7 separate regions of the Homo sapiens genome follow, and all the other regions are linked to region 6. The links are contacts of gene promoters, found by promoter capture Hi-C in blood cells and fetal thymus (Javierre and others, 2016). All regions are on one chromosome and are shown on one strand. The core of a region is centred on a gene start or on the middle of the fragment in contact, and the rest is flanking DNA. Distances in the headings are between cores, read along the strand shown.

The links. Contacts are between HindIII fragments. The CHiCAGO score rates a contact against its expected background, and 5 or more counts as called.
Region 1: a fragment that was not itself captured here is called in contact with the fragment with the promoter of SAMD8 in region 6 in 1 of 17 cell types (monocytes); the score reaches 5.4 in monocytes.
Region 2: a fragment that was not itself captured here is called in contact with the fragment with the promoter of SAMD8 in region 6 in 1 of 17 cell types (fetal thymus); the score reaches 6.6 in fetal thymus.
Region 3: the fragment with the promoter of AP3M1 here is called in contact with the fragment with the promoter of SAMD8 in region 6 in 9 of 17 cell types (fetal thymus, naive CD4 T cells, total CD8 T cells and 6 more); the score reaches 11.4 in fetal thymus.
Region 4: a contact is called between a fragment that was not itself captured here and the fragment with the promoter of SAMD8 in region 6, in 5 of 17 cell types (naive CD8 T cells, total CD8 T cells, endothelial precursors and 2 more). The highest score is 7.6, in naive CD8 T cells.
Region 5: a fragment that was not itself captured here is called in contact with the fragment with the promoter of SAMD8 in region 6 in 17 of 17 cell types (total CD4 T cells, naive CD8 T cells, monocytes and 14 more); the score reaches 19.2 in total CD4 T cells.
Region 7: a contact is called between a fragment that was not itself captured here and the fragment with the promoter of SAMD8 in region 6, in 1 of 17 cell types (fetal thymus). The highest score is 5.9, in fetal thymus.

Annotation. Positions count from the first base shown.
Region 1 is chr10:74,165,930-74,168,629 of GRCh38, reverse strand. All of the region lies in intron 1 of ADK (adenosine kinase), which reads right to left. Among named protein-coding and RNA genes, the nearest start is that of ADK, 16 kb to the right of the region's middle. RefSeq lists an enhancer at 915-1,034. The HindIII fragment of the contact is 1,058 bases long and covers 781-1,838 here.
Region 2 is chr10:74,198,369-74,201,068 of GRCh38, reverse strand. It overlaps ADK (adenosine kinase), which reads right to left. Exons shown (of 11, transcript NM_006721.4): 2 at 231-305. Among named protein-coding and RNA genes, the nearest start is that of ADK, 48 kb to the right of the region's middle. The HindIII fragment of the contact is 5,555 bases long and covers 1-2,700 here.
Region 3 is chr10:74,149,436-74,152,135 of GRCh38, reverse strand. It overlaps AP3M1 (adaptor related protein complex 3 subunit mu 1), which reads left to right and starts at 1,308. Exons shown (of 9, transcript NM_012095.6): 1 at 1,308-1,381. It overlaps ADK (adenosine kinase), which reads right to left and starts at 915. Exons shown (of 11, transcript NM_006721.4): 1 at 793-915. The coding sequence starts at 857. RefSeq lists enhancers at 565-744, 1,155-1,384. The HindIII fragment of the contact is 5,595 bases long and covers 1-1,619 here.
Region 4 is chr10:74,126,629-74,129,328 of GRCh38, reverse strand. It overlaps AP3M1 (adaptor related protein complex 3 subunit mu 1), which reads left to right. Exons shown (of 9, transcript NM_012095.6): 6 at 88-221. Among named protein-coding and RNA genes, the nearest start is that of AP3M1, 23 kb to the left of the region's middle. The HindIII fragment of the contact is 4,436 bases long and covers 1-2,700 here.
Region 5 is chr10:74,257,921-74,260,620 of GRCh38, reverse strand. The region is part of intron 3 of ADK (adenosine kinase); the gene reads right to left. Among named protein-coding and RNA genes, the nearest start is that of ADK, 110 kb to the right of the region's middle. The HindIII fragment of the contact is 6,384 bases long and covers 1-2,700 here.
Region 6 is chr10:75,110,365-75,113,064 of GRCh38, reverse strand. It overlaps SAMD8 (sterile alpha motif domain containing 8), which reads right to left and starts at 1,409. Exons shown (of 6, transcript NM_001174156.2): 1 at 1,343-1,409. RefSeq lists enhancers at 701-1,649, 1,650-2,599 and a silencer at 1,323-1,662. The HindIII fragment of the contact is 16,308 bases long and covers 1-2,700 here.
Region 7 is chr10:74,214,998-74,217,697 of GRCh38, reverse strand. All of the region lies in intron 2 of ADK (adenosine kinase), which reads right to left. Among named protein-coding and RNA genes, the nearest start is that of ADK, 65 kb to the right of the region's middle. The HindIII fragment of the contact is 4,150 bases long and covers 1-2,700 here.

The DNA.
Region 1 (2,700 bases), core at 60-2,559, 940 kb after region 6:
AAAAAGATTTTCCTTATTTTTATCATTTCAACGTAGATCTGATCTATGATACTTCACAATCTTTTTTTTCTTTCTTTCTTTTTTTTTTTTTTTGAGACAGTCTCGCTCTGTCGCCCAGGCTGGAGTGCAGTGGCGCGATCTCGGCTCACTGCAAGCTCCGCCTCCCGGGTTCATGCCATTCTCCTGCCTCAGGCTCCCAAGTAGCTGGAACTACAGCGCATGCCACCATGCCCCGCTAATTTTTTAGTATTTTTAGTAGAGATGGGGTTTCACTGTGTTAGACAGGATGGTCTCGATCTCCTGACCTCATGATCTGCCCGCCTCGGCCTCCCAAAGTGCTGGGATTACAGGCGTAAGCCACCGCGCCCAGCTCACAATCTTTTAAATTGTTCATTCATTAACTCAACAAATATTTATCGAGCATCTGTTCTACTACAGGAGACACTACAGATTTGGCAAAGATCAAGAACATGTGCTGCCCTTTTAGAACTTACATTCTAAGGAGAGAAAGATGAATAATCAAGTAACAAAAAAGAACAGCATCAAATGATCATAAGTGCTATTCAAAGAATTAAAACCAGCAGATCAATGTAGAGAAAGAAATTTTAAACTTTAAATCATTTCTTCAAAAGCATAAAACCCTCAGTATTCCATGGAAAAATAATATACATACTCAAATTGAACTATGAAAATTTACCAAAAGCAGACAAATTTCCCAATGGAGGAAAAAACACTTTAAAAGTGATCATCCTTCAAAGGGCAATAACAGAATTAAAAGCTTGGATATATAATTCAGTCATGTTTTTCTAAATTATTTTACATAATTGTGGCAGACTTAAAATGGGAACAATATCTTAGAGACAAGAAGTCTATGTTCCCTTCTCTTAAATCTGGGCTAGCCTGGAACTCCTCTGACCAATAGTGTATAGTGAAGGTGATGCTATGCCAGATTCTAAGCTAGCCTTTGAGAGGGCTGCCAGCTCCTGCTTTGGTCTCTTGGAGCTGCCACGTGAGAAGTCCAACTACCCAGCTGAAGAAACCACAGAGAGGATCTCAAACTACACTAAGAGAAGCCCAGTTGAGCCAAGCCTCCAGTTACCCTAAGGCATAAGGTGAGTGAATAAAGATAAGATGGACCCTCCAGACCAGACCTGTTGTCAGCTAAACACCTCCAAGTGATCTTATTCACCATATAGAACAGAATCAACAGGCCAAGCTGTGTCTGAATTCCTAATCCAAAAATCATGACATCTAATAAAGTAGTTATTTTAAGCCACCAAATTTTGGAATAGAAAACCAAACTGTGTGAAAAATACATTTTTTGGCCAGACACAGTGGCTCACGCCTGTAATCCTAACATTTTGGGAGGCTGAGGCGGGAGGATCACTTGAGCTTAGGAGTTCAAGACCAGCCTGGGCAACATAGTGAGACCTCATCTCTATTATATTTTTCTACATTTATATTTTTTTAATTAAAAATACATTTTTTACATTGTAACCCAGTACCCTATACATATAACTGAAACAATGATTCACAGAGCAATACTTACCTCTTAGGTACTCAATGCACAATATTTTTTATTCTATTTCTCGTTTATAAAATACCACTTGTGCAATACTCAAAAAGGCTCATGTAGTCTGGAAAACATTTTAGTCTATACAACTCACTTAACAGGTGCATTCACAAATCCAGACAGAGACCTTAATAGGACTCAGGTGTCCTTATCCCTAATCCAAAGCTCTTTTCCTTGCACCATGCTAAAAGCCAATAGGTATTACAGTTTGTAACCAGAAGTTCCTCACAAGCTCATATAAACACCTCAGAACTGAGTGAAAGCTTAAAAAGCTTCATGGAAGTCATGTAGCAATCAGAAATAGCTAAGAGGAACTGAGACTTTTCCTATTTTAACCATTTCTTTTTTTTTTTTCTTTTTTTTTTTTTTTGAGACGGAGTCTCACTTTGTCACCCAGGCTGGAGTGCAGTGGCGCAATCTTGGCTTATTGCAACTTCCACCTTCCAAGTTCAAGCGATTCTCCTACCTCAGCCTCCTGAGTAGCCAACGTGGGCAGAACACTTGAGGCCAGGAGTTTCAGACCAGCCTGGGTGACATGGCAAAACCTCATCTCTACAAAAAATACCAAAATTAGTTGGGCGTGGTGGCACAAGCCTGTGGTCCCAGCTACTTGGGAGGCTGCGGTGGGAGGATGGCTTGAGCCCGGAGGTGAATGTTACAGTGAGCTAAGATTGTTCAACTGCACTACAGCCTCTGCAACCAAGTAAGACCCCATCTCAAAAAATAGTACTAATAAATTGTTCTTAACTAGAACATTTTAATTAAACACAAGCAAAATTGGTTTGTCTAAAGTTTTGATTAGAAAATACAATCTACTGGCCGGGCATGGTGGCTCACGCCTGTAATCCCAGCAATTTGGGAGGCCGAGGCGGGCAGATCACCTAAGGTTGGAACTTCAAGACCAGCCAGGCCAACACAGTGAAACCCCGTCTCTACTAAAAATACAAAAATTCACTGGGTGTGGTGGCGCATGCCCTTAATCCTAGCTACTTGGGAGGCTGAGTCAGGAGAATCACTTGAACCCAGGAAGTGGAAGTGTACCCAGGAGGCCACTGCACTCCAGCCTGGGCAACAGAGCAACTCTGTCTCAAAGAAACATGAGAAAAAAGAAAATATAATCTACTAAA
Region 2 (2,700 bases), core at 164-2,663, 910 kb after region 6:
ATAAGCAAAAAAGTTTTAAGTAAAAATAGCAATGTATATAAGTTTTCCCAAGGAAAACTGTACTCAGTTATTCAATAGTTAATGATAGCACACTTGCTATCACCAAACTTAAATTTCCTGAGTTTTCCTTTAATTGAAGACATTCGGTGGTAAATTCACTTCTAAAGTTTTCATCCATTCTTCTTCAAATGTAAGTTCCACATAGTGCATATGAAGAGTTTAATACTTACTTATCAAGGAAATCTTTGTCCACTACAGCAGAGATGTCAAGCAGAGGATTTCCCATTCCAAAGAGAATATTTTCTCTAAAAAAACACAAAACACAAGTTAGAAATACTTCTAAAAGTAAGTTGATATGTAAAAGGTACACAAAATAAAAATAACTATCTTCATTTCAACCTGAAAATAAACCTAACACACCAGTTTATTAAACATTTGATTTGCCTATTATACGTAGAACATTTTAGAGGTAGCATAAAGACATTTAGAAAAAAAGATGATTATCAGAGAAAGATGCAAATCAAAACTACAATGAGACACCATCTCACACCAATGAGAATACCTATTTTTTTTTTTTTTTTTTGGACACGGAGTTTCGCTCTTGTCGCCCAGGCCGGAGTGCAATGGTGCAATCTCAGCTCACTGCAACCTCCACCTCCCAGGTTCAAGTGATTCTCCTGCCTCAGCCTCCTGAGTAGCTGGGATTAAAGGTGCCTGCCACCATGCCTGGCTAATTTTTGTATTTTTAGTAGAGATGGGGTTTCACCATGTTGGCCAGGCTGGTCTCGAACTCCTGACCTCAGCACATCCACCTGCCTTAGCCTCCCAAAATGCTGGGATTACAGGTGTGAGCCACTGTGCCCAGCCCAGAATAACTATTACTAAAGAGTCAAAAAAAAAAAAAAAAAAAAACAGATGGTGTCAAGGTTGCAGAGAAAAGGTAATACTTATAAACTGCTGATGGGAATGCAAATTAGGTTAGCCCCTGTGAAAAGAAGTTTAAAGATCTCTCAAAAAACTTAAAATATAATTACCATCCGACCCAGCAATCTCATTATGGGTATATACCCAAAGAAAAATGAATCATTCTAGGCTGGGCACGGTGGTTCACACCTGTAATCCCAGCACTTTGGGAGGCCGAGGTGGGTGGATCATGAGGTCAGCAGATCAAGACCATCCTGACCAACAAGGTGAAACCCCATCTGTATAAAAAATACAAAAATTAGCCAGGTGTAGTGGCGAGCACCTGTAGTCCCAGCTACTCAGGAGGCTGATGCAGGAGAATCACTTGAACCCAGGAGGTGGAGGTTGCAGTGAGTCGAGATCGTGCCACTGCGCTCCAGCCTGGGCGACAGAGCGAGACTCTGCCTAAAAAATAAAAAAAATGAAAAAAAATGAATCATTCTACCAAAAAGGGATATGTTTATTACAGCACTCTTCACAATAGCAAAGACATGGAATCAACTTAGGTGCCCATCAATGGTAGAATGGATAAAGAAAATTCAATACATATACACCATGGAATACTATGCAGCCATAAAAAAAGAACGAAATCATGTCCTTTACAGCAATATGGATGCAGCTGAATTATCCTAAGTGAATTAACATAGAAACAGAAAGCCAAATATCACATGTTTTCACTTATAAGTGGAAGCTAAACACTGGGTACGCAGAGACACAAAGATGTCGGGACAAAAGACACTGGAGATTCCAAAATCAGGGAGGGAGACAGGAAAGCAAGGGCTCAAAAACTACCTATTGGTTACTATGTTCACTACTTAGACGATGGGGATCATTACAAAACCAAACTTCAGTATCATATGATATACCCATGTAACAAACCTGCACATGCACTCCCCTGAATGTTATTAGGGAGCCCGTGGCACATCCTGGAAGAGTACAAGCAAGAGCCCTATCTACCCTTCACAAAAAAATGACTGTGGTAGGGTCTTCACAATGGATATCAGAAGTGATATAATTCTCTTATTATGTATCCAAAAAATTTAAATATATGCTAACTTTTTATAGAACGATTTGTAACTTTTACAAATTTAAATGCACATCTTTTCATCTAAAAATGTCTAGCTAAAACTTTTATTCATGTCTTATGTTTCCTATACTTCTTATATTCATGTCTTCTCATACATATACTTGTATGTTATATATATAAGGATTCATTTCAGATGCCTATAACATGAAATAAAGCAAAACAAAAACAAACAAATCAACAAGAAACGATATAATTTTAAATTATATTTAACAGACTTGGAGGAAGTCTGTTTTCCATAAGAGATCACAGTATGGTTCCAATCCAAATAAAAGAAAGAACTCCACCACAAGTGATGCCTTAAACAGAAGCTCATCTAGCAGCAAGAAATGGGCCAGTGAATACTGTTGGATCAGTCTCAATAAGAGACATTCATCTAGTTTATCCAAAAAGATTTGTTTCTGTGTAATTTTTTATTGGTCTCCAGTTTACTGATGATTCCCCCTCCCTTTCAGTTGCCTCCAAACCAGTTACCATTCTCACCATTTGGCAACTATCAGTAATATCAATGGACTAACATGCCAATATTTCTTTAAGAGAATGAGGTACAGCCTATAATTATAATCTGTAATGATTTTTAGAAGATAAAATTACAGTCTCTTATTAACACCATAGATTGAGCAACTATGGCTGAATATGCAATAAAGAGATAT
Region 3 (2,700 bases), core at 59-2,558, 960 kb after region 6:
CAGTTTGATATGTCTATTTTAAGATGGAAAAAAAAATCGCTGCCTTTCAGCGAACATTTCCAAATCATCAAAGACTGCCTGCTTCACTTTATACTTATTAGGAAGGGATATTTTAACAAATGACTCTTCATAAGTAAAAGTTGCAACATCAATCACATGTGAGGCAGGTGTTAGGGGCAGCACTGTCCCCGTTGCTGCCAAAAAGTGTAAATAAAAAAGAGAAATCAACCTTTCCTATCCATTCATCCAAATGCTGCCCCTGCAAAGCATCGGAGGGGTCTGGGTCCCTGGTAGAGGGTCCTCAAAGGTACGGGCTTTCAGAATGTGCACGAAAAGGAAGGTCAACGTGCCCTTCCGCAACACTCTGAAAAATCCCCAAGAATTCTGACTTTGCCCCAGTGTACAGCAGTTGCCGAGCCTCTTTCCCGCCATCCCCCGGGAAGAGAAGGCGGCCGCCTACAGACGCTGCTCCGGTCCGACCCTCCGGGGTCGCACCAGCCCAGCCTGGGCTTGCTCGCAGGTGGCGCGGTCAGCCAGCTCGGTCCCCCTGCGGGCCACGACTGGCGAAGGGCTGCTGGAGCCGGAGCTGCACCAGACAGGCGGGGACTCAGCCAAACGGAGAGAACGTCTGGCAAGGGGTCGCGGCCAAGCGGGCAGCTGGGGGAGGTCCTGCGTGTTGGCCCCAAGCTGGCAGTGAGAGACACCACCCAGCGTCGGGGCCGTGCAACCCCACGTGGGCCCTGGCTTGCTTGCAGCGCCGTCACCCTCCTCCCCAAGTCCGGCAGCGCTCACCTCAGCGCTTGCGGCGCCTCCACCTTCAGCTTTTTGGGCTTCGGCTCCTCCTCAGCAGCTGCCATCTTCGCGCTCCCACCCCACTTTGGCTCTACAGCCCACCTCTGCCATCCACTCTCTGGTCCCGCCCCCTCTTCGCATCACCGCTTTCTCTTCTCCAAATCCCGCCCCTCCAGACTCCGCCCATTCTGTGCCGCTGTCATCCACAATCATTGGCTCTATCCGTCGGCACCAACAGCGAATGCCCCGCCCATTCCTGACCCCGCCTCCCCTACCATGAGGGACCCCAGACTGCGTTAGGCAGCAGATGACCGCCTGAATCTAGATGGAGAGAAACCCACCATTTTTCTAGGCCCTGGATTATGTAGAAGATTTAGATACTAAGCCTCAAGAGACGTCTTTCCTCTCATTTACGGTCTTCCTGCATATTTAAAATTTCTAATACGGTAGACAGAGTCGGTGTCTTTGAAGCTGTTAATCAGGCAATTTCCTGGGCACTCCAGCTGCGGGTCCTCGCGGCCTTCTCGGCTTCTCCAGCTTCGGTAGGAGAGGATCCGGCGCCGAATCACTGACTGGCACAGGTGTTGGGGTGAGTGTGAGGGGCGGGAAATCTGTGGACTGGGGACAGCTCCAAAACCCGGGAGTAGGCTGAATAGCTGGGGCCCCCGACTCCGATCTGGGCTCTAGGAGCGTCTTTGGTGCTGTTGGCCCGGGCCTCGCTTCCCCCCCACTCCCGGCCTTCCGGGCTTTCTCGCCAGCAAGGCCAGAAGGGAGCGGTCCACCTGCAGCCCAGTGTTCTCAGGCGCCTGAGCCCCGGAGGTCAAGCTTACTGGGTTCCCCCTCTATAGTGAGCTGGAGTACAGACGGCAGGAATCTCAGTCCCAGGTTTCTGCTTTGGAGGACAAAACCCCAAACGGACCTGAGCAGACGTCCTGTTAGCGGGTGGTGCCTGGAAGAGCCTGGGGTGAGGAATGCAGTGAGAAGGGTGTTGCAGTTCTTCAGGAGAGAGGTAACGGGGTTCTAAGCTGAGCAGGTGGCAGTGAGTGTGGAAGAGTGACGGGCGATGTGGCTGTTTGTATTTGGTAGATTTGTTTGAACCTGAAACTTACAGCCTTATGTGTGATTAAGAAGATGGTGCCAGTGACAGGAGGAGGTATTTTATGGAGTTTGAGTTTTATCGAATTTGAAACAGTGGTTTACATGGAGATTGTAGAAAGACTTTAAAAAAAATTATGAGAATTAAGCCCGAAAGACTTTCAAGGTGAGACCCAAAACAGATGAAGTTTCATATAAAAGGGTAAGAAGTATTTTTGTTTAGGAGAAAGTTATCAATGACATAAAATGCTGCAATGGTCAGAGGAGGAAGCTGAAATCAGAATAGGTCGTTGGATTTTATAATTAGAAAGTCATTGAGCTGTTTGAGAGAGATGCTTTAATAGTAACTGAGGAAAGACTGCAAGTGTAGACCAATCCTTCATCATTTGGGGCATGAAGCAAGATTATTGAGAGTGGCAAGGTGGGGGAAAGTTTGGGGTTTGTTTTAAAGAATACAAGATATCTATTTGGGGGCAGGAAGCAAGCAACTATTTGAAGATTCAAGAAAAAGTCTTGTCTCCCAGAAGAGAAGGAAAGGAATGGGATCAAGTTACAAGTGAAAGGATTAATTTGGGAAAGACAGAGGGACACTTTCAATTGACACTATAGGAGAAGTGAAGTGAATGAGGTTAATGAAGAATTATCTTAATTTACGAATCTTGGCCAGGCGCGGTGGCTCACGCCTGTAATCTCAGCACTTTGGCAGGCTGAAGCGGGCGGATCACAAAGTCAGGAGTTCGAGACCAACCTGGCCAACATAGTGAAACCCTGTCTCTACTAAAAATACAAAAATTAGCCAGGTGTGGTGGCACA
Region 4 (2,700 bases), core at 8-2,507, 980 kb after region 6:
TTCAGGGAACATATTTGTCAAGGTATCTGAGTACAGTTCCCATATTCATTATAGTCTATGAACGACTGTCTTCTGTTTTTCTGGCAGAACCCTAGGCTTCTGGATGATGTCAGCTTTCACCCCTGCATCCGGTTCAAGCGTTGGGAATCTGAAAGAGTTTTGTCATTTATTCCTCCAGATGGAAATTTCCGACTCATATCATACCGTGTCAGCTCACAAAAGTATGTTGATGCATCAGCCAGAATCTGCCATCATACATATCAAGTACAACTCACCTTTCCCTGTTTCTTTCTGAAAGTTGAGTACTTGAGGTCATCACTGCTCACTTTAACCATAGCTCACCAGGAGACCCAGTGAGAACGGGTGAAAATACGCACCTAAAATAATCCGTATACTTTGAATGTATGAGTGTAGAGTGGTACTAAGTGAGACTAGAGTAAAATCTATAGCCAAGAACAAGCAAACCATACATAACCTGGGCAAAAATTGTGGTACCGGTCCTTTGCAAGGTTATGCATGGTCAAATTATGGCACTGGTTCTTTGCTCAGGTTATGCATGGTCCATTTTGCTCTGCTTCTGAAAGCTGAGTACTTTGCAAGCAGAGCAAAACGGACCATGCATAACCTGGGCAAAACCATGAACCATTGCCATAATCTTACCATAGTCTGTAGAGTTTGTGGCCAACAAGGAGACAGACCTACCTGTAGTTCGTGAGGACATTCCCCAATTTACCTGCTTCAAGTACGTCTTCTCTGCGTTGAGTTTTTAAGGAACTGTTTAGCATTGAGGGGCCGGGTGCAGTGGTTCACTCCTGTAATCCCAACACTTTGGGAGGCCAATGTGGGCAGATCACTTGGGGTCAAGAGTTCTAGACCAGTCTGGTCAACATGGTGAAACCCTGTCTCTACTAAAAACACAAAATTAGCCAGGCGTGGTAGCGTGTGCCTATATAATCTCAACTACTTAGGAGGCTGAGGCATGAGAATCACTTGAACCTGGAAGGCAGAGGTTGCAGTGACAGATCACACCACTGCACTACAGCCTGGCCAACAGGGTAAAACTCCATCTCAAAAAAAAAAAAAATTTAGCATTGGGGATCGGAGTTATAGGTAGTTTGTTTCTTGAAAATACCAAAAGTTATTTGAGTAACATCATGACAGAACTCAAAAACAGAGAAATTATTTCTCGGCTCTTTTCTTTTCCTTTTTTTTTTTTTTTTTTTTTTTTAAGCCGGAGTTTGGCTCTTGTTGCTCAGGCTGGAGTGCAATGGTGAAATCTCGGCTTACTGCAACCTCCACCTCCAGGGTTCAAGTGATTCTCCTGCCTCGGCCTCCCAAGTAGCTGGGATTACAGGCATGCACCACCACACCCGGCTAATTTTGTGTTTTTAGTAGAGGCGGGGTTATTCCATGTTGGTCAGACTGGTCTCGAACTCCAGACCTCAGGTGATCTGCCCACCTCAGCCTCCCAAAGTGCTGGGATTACAGGCGTGAGCCACCGTGCCTGGCCTGTTTCTTGGCTCTTATCACATAGGAACTGTTTTCATTTATATAAAACATATTTTACATTATTTTTCAGTGGGATCATAATTCATTTTAAACTAGGGCCATTTGCCCCAATTGTTTTTGTTTGTTTGTTTTATGTTATTTTGTTTTGTTTGTTTGTTTTGAGACGGAGTTTCACTATTGTCACCCAGGCTGGAGTGCAATGGTGTGATCTTGGCTCACTGCAACCTCTACCTCCTGGGTTCAAGCGATTCTCCTGCCTCAGCCTCCCAAGTAGCTGGGATTACAGGCACCTGCCACCGCGCCCAGCTAATTTTTGTTTTTTGTTATTTTTTTTTTTTATTAGAGAGGGGATTTCACCATGTTGGCCAGGCTGGTCTCAAACTCCTGACCTCCAGTGATCTGCCTGCCTTGGCCTCCCAAAGTGCTGGGATTACAGGTGTGAGCCACTGCACCCAGCCACCCCAATTGTTTATACTGTTATTAAACTTCAGATTTCTGTCTTGATTTGTATACAGTTCCCAGCACAGTGGTACAAGAACATTATGCTGTACTCAGCTCCCCCTTGTGTAGATACTGAATCTGCAGTTCTAGAGGTACTGCCATCTTGGTATCCTTGGAGGACTGGTTGCAAAAATCAGCAGATGCTCGAGTCCCTTACATAAAATGGTGTAGTATTTGCATATAACCTATGCACATCCTCCTGTATACTTTAAATCATCTCCAAGTTACTTGTGATAGTACACTGTAAACACTGTGTAAATAATTGTTATACCATGTTGACTTTTTATTTTTATTGTAGTTATATTGTTATTTTTTACTTTTTTTTTTTTTTTTTTTTTTTTTTTTTTTGAGATGGCGTCTCGCTCCTTTGCCCAGGCTGGAGTGCAGTGGCACGATCTCAGCTCACTGCAATCTCCGCTTCCCAGGTTCAAGCGATTCTCCTGCCTCAGGCTTCCAAATAGCTGGGACTACAGGCATGAGCCACCACACCCAGCTAATTTTTGTATTTTTAGTAGAGACGAGGTTTCACCATGTTGGCCAGGCTGGTCTTGAACTCCTCACCTCAGCCTCCCAAAGTACTGAGATTACAGGTGTGAGCCACCGCGCCCAGCCCTAGCTAATTTTTGTAGAGACGAGGTTTCATCATGTTGGCCAGGCTGGTCTCAAACTCCTGACCTCAGGTGATCCCCT
Region 5 (2,700 bases), core at 89-2,588, 850 kb after region 6:
TGGTGTGAGATAAAGAGTCACCTAATCACAGAACACAGAAGAGCAAAAGCATTGAGAAATAATTTCTAAGGCTGGGCACAGTGGCTCACGCCTATAATCACAGGCCAAGGCAGGAGGATCACTTGAGGCCAGGCATTCAAGGGACAACACAGCAAAACCCTGTTTCTACAAAAAAATTAAAAAATTAGCTGGGTGGAGTGGTGCATGCCTGTAGTCCCAGCTGCACAGGAAGCTGAGGCAGGAGGATGGCTTGAGCCCAGGAGTTCAAGGCTTCAGTGAGCTGTGATCACACCAATGTACTCCAACCTGGTGAGAGGGCAAGAACTTGTCTCTAATTTAAAAAGCAAAACAAACAAACAAACAAAAGAATCTATAATTCTACTACAGGTTGAGACAACCACAATAAGCACTGAAAACAGAATCAGTTACAAGTGGCTGATTTTGGGGGGAGTGGGAACAGAGAAACATAGGGCAAGATTTTTCTTGTTTTTCATTATTAGACAGACCATCTGTTCTATTTGATTGTTAACCATGTACACATATTACCTTTGAAGGTTTTTTTTTTTAAATGGCCAAAGCTATAATGGGTCAGAGTCCTAGGGGTTCCCTGAAACTTGTTACTAAAACTCTCTCAAAAGGGTAAAATGCACTTAACATACATAGTCTTCAAAACTTAGAATATCCCTATCTAGAACATTCTTATAAAGGAATACAAGACGAGTGAGCAAAGAATTACTAATTTATTGGAAAGAAAGCTGAGCAGGACAAGAAGTGTTTCCAATAATATGAACATGTATAGAAAGAATGAGTAATGAAATTCAATCTGAGTCATTTAATTCAATGAGCAGATAATTGAGAAAAATGGGCCGGGCAGGGTGGCTCACGCCTGTAATCCTAGCACTTTGGGAGGCGAAGGCAGACGGATCACGAGGTCAGGAGATCGAGACCATCCTGGCTAACATGGTGAAACCCCGTCTCTACTAAAAATACAAAAAAAATAGCCAGGCATGGTGGCGGGTGCCTGTAGTCCCAGCTACTTGGGAGGCTGAGGCAGGAGAATGGCATGAACCCAGGAGGTGGAGCTTGCGGTGAGCCGAGATCGCGCCACTGCACTCCAGCCTGGGTGACAGAGCAAGACTCCGTCTCAAAAAAAAAAAAAAAAAAGGAAAAGAAAAATGATTACATCGAGTTTATAACACATCCCCAAGAATTCTAAGGCAAATTTGTCACCACCTCAATCACAGAAAACAAAGATCATTTTGCTAAAGATTTTTGAGTTAATTATATCTAATCATCTTATTTAACATAATTCTGAAAAAAATACATTTGTGCACATGCTTACATGTTCAAAACAAACTACTAGTAAATATTCTATATGCCAGGCACAGTGGCTCACACCTGTAATCCCAACACTTTGGGAGGCTGAGGCAGGCAGATCACTTGAGGCCAGGAGTTCGAAATCAGCCTGGCCAACATGGCGAAACCTCTTCTCTACTAAAAATACAAAAATTAGCTAGGCCACATGCCTGTAATCCCAGCTACTTGGGAGGCTAAGGCACGAGAATCGCTTGAACCCAGGATGGAGAGGTTGCAATGAGCCGAGATCATGCCACTGCACTCCAGCCTGGGCGACACAGGGAGACTCCGTCTCAAAAAAAAAAAAAAAAAAAAAACACAAAAACAAACAACAACAACAAAAAAGATATTCACTCAAGGAATTCTTATATTATGTATACGTTAAACAATCATGTTACAGAAAACAACCCATTTAGTAACATGAATAACAATTTAAAGAAAAAGGTAGAGCACAAAACTATTATGCTATTAACATCTAAAGATATTATATAATCACAGCTTCAGCCCATGGCACTCAACAGTAAACATAACAGCTACATTCCTTCATTTTTAGCAAAGAATCTTTGATTTTTATCAGAATTGATATGTGAATTACTAGATTATGACCCTTCATTTTTTTCCCAGCTAAATAAAATGCTTCAATTTTGATTACTTCTAAATCTGTTGTATTAAGTCTAAAACTGATTAATGATGTACCGTATCCTGCTAAGTAGAATTAAATTAGTGTATAATTGATTAGTGTATAATTGAAGCAGTTGTAGATTTACCAACTTTAATTAAGGTGGCTTATTACAGATAATTTATACTATAAGAGAGAAAATAGAAGCAACAAGTTCATCAAAACTTTAAATTAAGATCAAAGATACAATATTAAAGATTAGAAAAAAGGCTATAGGCTAATACTGAGTACTTTGAAAGTAAATCATCTTAGTACAAATCCTTTTAGAGGAGAAAACCAATTATTAATATTGACCTTTTAGGCTAGATTTTCCAAGAAATTACACTATTAGTGGTCATTTACTATAGTAAGTGATGCCAACTTATGTAAGCAAATAAAAGAATACATCTAATAATATTTTGTCTACTTACAACACTAAACTACACTAAAAAAATACTTAAATATTTCTCATAACTCCTTTAAAAAGGTATTCAAGCAAGAGGAAAAGCTCATAATTCTCACTATAAAAATAAATAAAAACTAATTTATTAAGAAGGAAGCAAGTGAGGAAAAAGAACATTTCTGAAACAAAACACAGAAGTAGTGTCTGCAGTTCTCTCAATACCCTTGTGGGTGGTAACTACAGCCCAGAAACTTTTACACATAAATTGCTAACTCCCCTGAGT
Region 6 (2,700 bases), core at 160-2,659:
AAAAATACTATTCACACAATACCTGCAAAATAGTATTTCAATATTGGTTTTGCCAATCAGTCAAAGGTACCTCTCCAATTTTCAAGAGATAAGTCCAATCCTGGGGTTATCAGTGAGAGGAAGATTTGGTATTGCGCCTAGACTGTGGCAAGTTCACTGTGCCCCCTTCACCCAGAAACTTGCATTGACCATACATTTACTATGTGGCAAATACATGTGTCAACTTAAAACTTTGAAAGTGGAACCAGTCCATGTTGAGTATCTGTAAAATCCAAGTGTCCAAATTCTTGTTTCAAGTTTAATTTTTAAAATCTGAGTATCCAAAGTCTTGTTTCAAGTTTTTAAAACTTAAAGGTAATATAGTAAATTTTTAGGATCTTAACATGTCTGGTATTTAAACTTAGCTACGAAAAAATTACAATGAAAAAAAGGACACCATTACTGTCAATAAATCCAAATGATATCTTCATTTTCAGAATCACGTCTTCCACTACCTTCTTCAAACATCACTTCCTCTCCACTACTTCCCCCAGTCCTTTAGGCAAATCAGTGATTCACACCGCCCCTTCCACCCAAGATTCTTAAAATGATCCACTGTGCACGAACGAGAAAGCCCCACGATCCAAGTACATTGCCCTAGTGATCTTTGATGTTTTAAAAGGCACCTGTAAAAATGCCAAAGCCCAAAATTAGATCCCCAAGGGCTCCTTTTCTTTCTTGACCACACTTCTCTTTTTCAGTGCCTCCCTCACCCCTTGAGGCCAGACGATTTCCCATCCAACAGCCCTCCTCCTTCTAGTCAAACCTAAATCCTGCCCTCCATCACCACCAGCCCCACCCGGGGTGGGAGGCGGATAAGAGGGCTCCGTAAGAGGAGAACCCCATGAGAGGGCTCCAGTCCCAGCCCCGATCGCCCTCCCTCGCCCTGGGAAGGGAACACCGGCCCAGGTCTTGCTCCTCTGACTCCTCATCCCCGCTGCCAAACCCAGAGCATCTCTTCTTCCGGGTCCACATTCCCGCAGGACCTTCGATCTTTTTCCCCCACTGCGCAGCTTTCAAAAGCCCCCAAGCTCTGGGCTCTTCAAGCCTCCCCCTCTCGCTCTCTCCCTCTCGTTCCTCGGCCTCCACTTATCCCTCAGCCTTCAGGCCCTCAGTTCGACAACCTCCATTTGCTTCAGATTCCATTCCAGAGCTGACTATCCCGGTTCCCTCAACCGTCTCCCCGGGGCCCCTCCAGGTCGCGGTCCCTCGGCAGCCCCCGGCTCCATCCCAGACTCCCCACTCACCCTTGGCAGCAGGCGCCCCCCAAGCTCCCCTCTCCTCAGCCTCAGCTCCCGCTCACCTCCGCGGTCCGAGTCGGGCTCCCCGGACCCACCTCCGAGTCGGCGTCCGAGCCGCCGTCGGAGTCCGGGGCCCTCCCCGCCTCGCCGGAGTGAAGCGCCTCAAGCGGCGGGGGCGGAGCCCGGGGCGGGGAGCCGGAGTGGAGGCGGGGGCGGTGGCGACTGCGCGCAGGCATCGTCCCGGCCGCCGTCACCGCCGCGCCGGCAGCTGCTCGGAGCCGAACCGGAACTGCTTCGGGAGGCGGGGCCCTACCGGCCGGGGACGGGGTTCTACCGGCAGGGGGCGGGGCCCACACTGGAAAAGACGCGAGGCTCCAGATGGGCCCGAGAGGAGAACCGAGATGCTGCCGCGGAGGAGCCCGAGGGCGCATGCGTCATGCCGGAGGCCAAAGCGACAGGAGGAAGCGGGGCTAGCGGAGCCGGGGCGGGGCCTGTGGGATCAGTAAATGGGGTTAGGGCCTAGAAGGAGGTAATCCGAATTCCTCTGGAGAGAGCCAGCTCTTCTCCAATAGCCAGCCCCCAATGATCATTGTTATAATTTATTGCCCATTTACTCTTTGACAGTGTCTATGCCAAACGCCATATAAACATCTCATTTAATCCTTGTGCTAAGGCCGGGAGCGGAGGCTCACGTCTGTAATCCCAGCACTTTGGGAGGCTGAGGCGGGATCACCTGAGGTCAGGAGTTCGAGACCAGCCTGGCCAGCATGGGGAAACCTCGTCTGTACTAAAAATACAAAAATTAGCCGGGCGTGGTGGTGCATACCTGTAATCCCAGCTACTCGGGAGGCTGAGGCAGGAGAATCGCTTGAACCCGGGAAATGGAGGTTGCAATGAGCCGAGATCACGCCATGGCACTCCAGCCTGGGCGACAAGAGCAAACTCCATCTCAAAAAAAAAATCCTAGTGCTAATTCTGCAAGGGGGATCCTATAGCACAGAAAAGTAAAGAAACATACTGCCTGACATATTGCAAACTGATATTCCAACCCAAATCTCTCTAACATCAGATCCTGTATTTTCCTCACTCCACCATGCTGCACCACCCTGAGGGAAGGTCTCCTCCCAAGCCAGGTCTAGCATTGGCATAAACCAAGTCCAAACCCAGCTGTAACCTGGACACGAGCCCCTCCTTGGTCTTGCCTCCCCACACAGTGCCGGGCCGACTTCAATGGTTCTGAATGGGATAGACATGAGTGTAGACTGCTTCCATGGGATGCCCTGGTGTGGCCTTTCCCTTCAAACTGGTCTTAAGGCCAAGGGCAGCTGGGAACCTCCCCACTGCAGCTCATACCCTTCCCAGCTCCATTAGGGCCACTGAGAAGTCACATGAGAGAGGGTGAGACATCTCATCTCTCTTG
Region 7 (2,700 bases), core at 180-2,679, 900 kb after region 6:
GCTGTCTGATCGTTCCTCTGGAAGTTTTGTCTCAGAGGAGTACCCGGCCATGTGAGTTGTCAGTCTGCTCCTACTGGGGGGTGCCTCCCAGTTAGGCTGCTCAGGGGTCAGGGGTCAGGGACCCACTTGAGGAGGCAGTCTGCCCGTTCTCAGATCTCCAGCTGCGTGCTGGGAGAACCACTGCTCTCTTCAAAGCTGTCAGACAGGGACATATAAGTCTGCAGAGGTTACTGCTGTCTTTTTGTTTGTCTGTGCCCTGCCCCCAGAGGTGCAACCTACAGAGGCAGGAAGGCCTCCTTGAGCTGTGGTGGGCTCCACCCAGTTGGAGCTTCCCGGCTGCTTTGTTTAGCTAAGCAAGCCTGGGCAATGGCGGGCGCCCCTCTCCCAGCCTCGCTGCCGCCTTGCAGTTTGATCTGAGACTGCTGTGCTAGCAATCAGCAAGACTCCGTGGGCGTAGGACCCTCCGAGCCAGGTGCAGGATATAATCTCCTGGTGTGCCGTTTTTTAAGCCCGTCGGAAAAGTGCAGTATTCGGGTGGGAATGACCCGATTTTCCAGGTGCCATCTGTCACCCCTTTCTTTGACTAGGAAAGGGAACTCCCTGACCCCTTGTGCTTCCCGAGTGAGGCAATGCCTCGCCCTGCTTCGGCTCATGCACGGTGCGCTGCACGCACTGACCTGCGCCCACTGTCTGGCACTCTCTAGTGAGATGAACCCAGTACCTCAGATGGAAATGCAGAAATCACCCGTCTTCTGCATCGCTCACGCTGGGAGCTGTAGACCGGAGCTGTTCCTATTCGGCCATCTGGGCTCCTCTCACTTTTTATTAATATAAAAAGGATGACATACTCCTCACCTATTGTGAATGAAACTATACACTATTCTATTGCCTGAGTATAAAAACCTTTTAAGTGTTAAACAAGGAATGATTCATATTTTGTCTGTGAAACTTTTTTTTTTTTATTTTTTTTTTTGAGACAGAGTTTCACTCTGTCACCCAGGCTGAAGTACAGTGGCATGATTGTGGCTCACCGCAACCTCTGCCTGCTGGGTTCAAGCAATTCTCGTGCCTCAGTCCCCAAAATAGCTGGGACTACAGGCATGCACCCCCACGCCCGGCTAATTTTCGTATTTTAAGTAGAAACGAAGTTTCACCACGTTGGCCAGGCTGGTCACCAACTCCTCACCTCAAGTGATCCGCCCACCTTGTCCTCCCAAAGTACTAGGATTACAGGTGCGAGCCACTGCACCTGGCCTATTTTCTTCTGTTTAATAATGTACCAACATTTTGAAGGCAGAGAAGCAACATTTTGAAGGCAGAGAAGGAGAAAAAAAATTTTTTTAATAAATAAAAAATAATTTAGCAACATTTTAATACATTTGTTATTTTACCGTGTGCTAATTACAATTTAATGACTAAGAGATATTTTAAAATTTACACATTTTGGCTGGCTGCAAAGACATATAATAGGGTAATCAATATGCATGAAAGACTGTAATGCATAAAAATATACTACCTTCATAATGTATGCATGTTACAGGCAAAATATAACTTATGCATAAAATACATCATATAAGAATAGAATCTGGTGTGAAAAGTATAACAGAAATGCAAATTCAAGACAGAAAGGACTATAAAATTTTTAAACATCAAAAAAGGAAGCTGTTTATGTATTTTTATAAATGAATAAAAGGGGTATCAAATCACAGTGGTATTTAGAGTCCACTAAAAAGAGTGATTTAGGCCAGGCGCGGTGGCTCACGCCTGTAATCCCAGCACTTTGGGAGGCCGAGACGGGCGGATCACAAGGTCAGGAGATCGAGACCATCCTGGTTAACATGGTGAAACCCCGTCTCTACTAAAAAAAATACAAAAAAATTAGCCAGGCATTGTAGTCCCAGCTGCTTGGGAGGCTGAGGCAGGAGAATGGGGTGAACCCAGGAGGCAGAGCTTGCAGTGAGCCGAGATCGAGCCACTGCACTCTAGCCTGGGTGACAGAGCAAGACTCTGTCTTAAAAAAAAAAAAAAAAAAGAGTGATTTATCAGTATTATATAAAGTTATTAAAAATCATTAGCTGGGCGCAGTGGCTCATGCTTATAATCCCAGCACTTTGGGAGGCCAAGGCAGGCAGATCACTTGAGGTCAGGAGTTTGAGACCAGCCTGGCCAACACAGCGAAACCCCATCAGCAAAACCCCATCTCTACTAAAAATACAAAAATTAGCCAGGCGTGGTGGCAGGCGCCTGTGGTCCCAGCTACTGGGGAGGCTGAGGCAGGAGAATCACTTGAACCTGGGAGATGGAGGTTGTAAGTGAGCCAAGATTGTGCCACTGCACTCCAACCTAGGCGACAGAGCCTACTTTCAACTTAGTAGAAAGCTATAACCCAACTTCCCACCATGGCTTTCATAGAATGATGCAAAGCACAGCCTATATTTTGGATGTTTTGTTTTCTAATGGCATAGATAGGTATTCTTTTATAATCAATTCTTACCATGAACATAGTTCCTAAAAATCAGAGACAACAAAATGGTACAGTGGTAGTCCTCAACATTTTTTTCTGCCCTAAATTACTGGAGAAAAATGACATACACTCCAAAGAATAGAAGACGGGGAAGCAAGAGGGAGCACAGGGAAGGGGCCTCTTTATTCTGCCTCTAGCCCCTACAAAGAGAACAACTGAGTGAAAAAAATCACTAG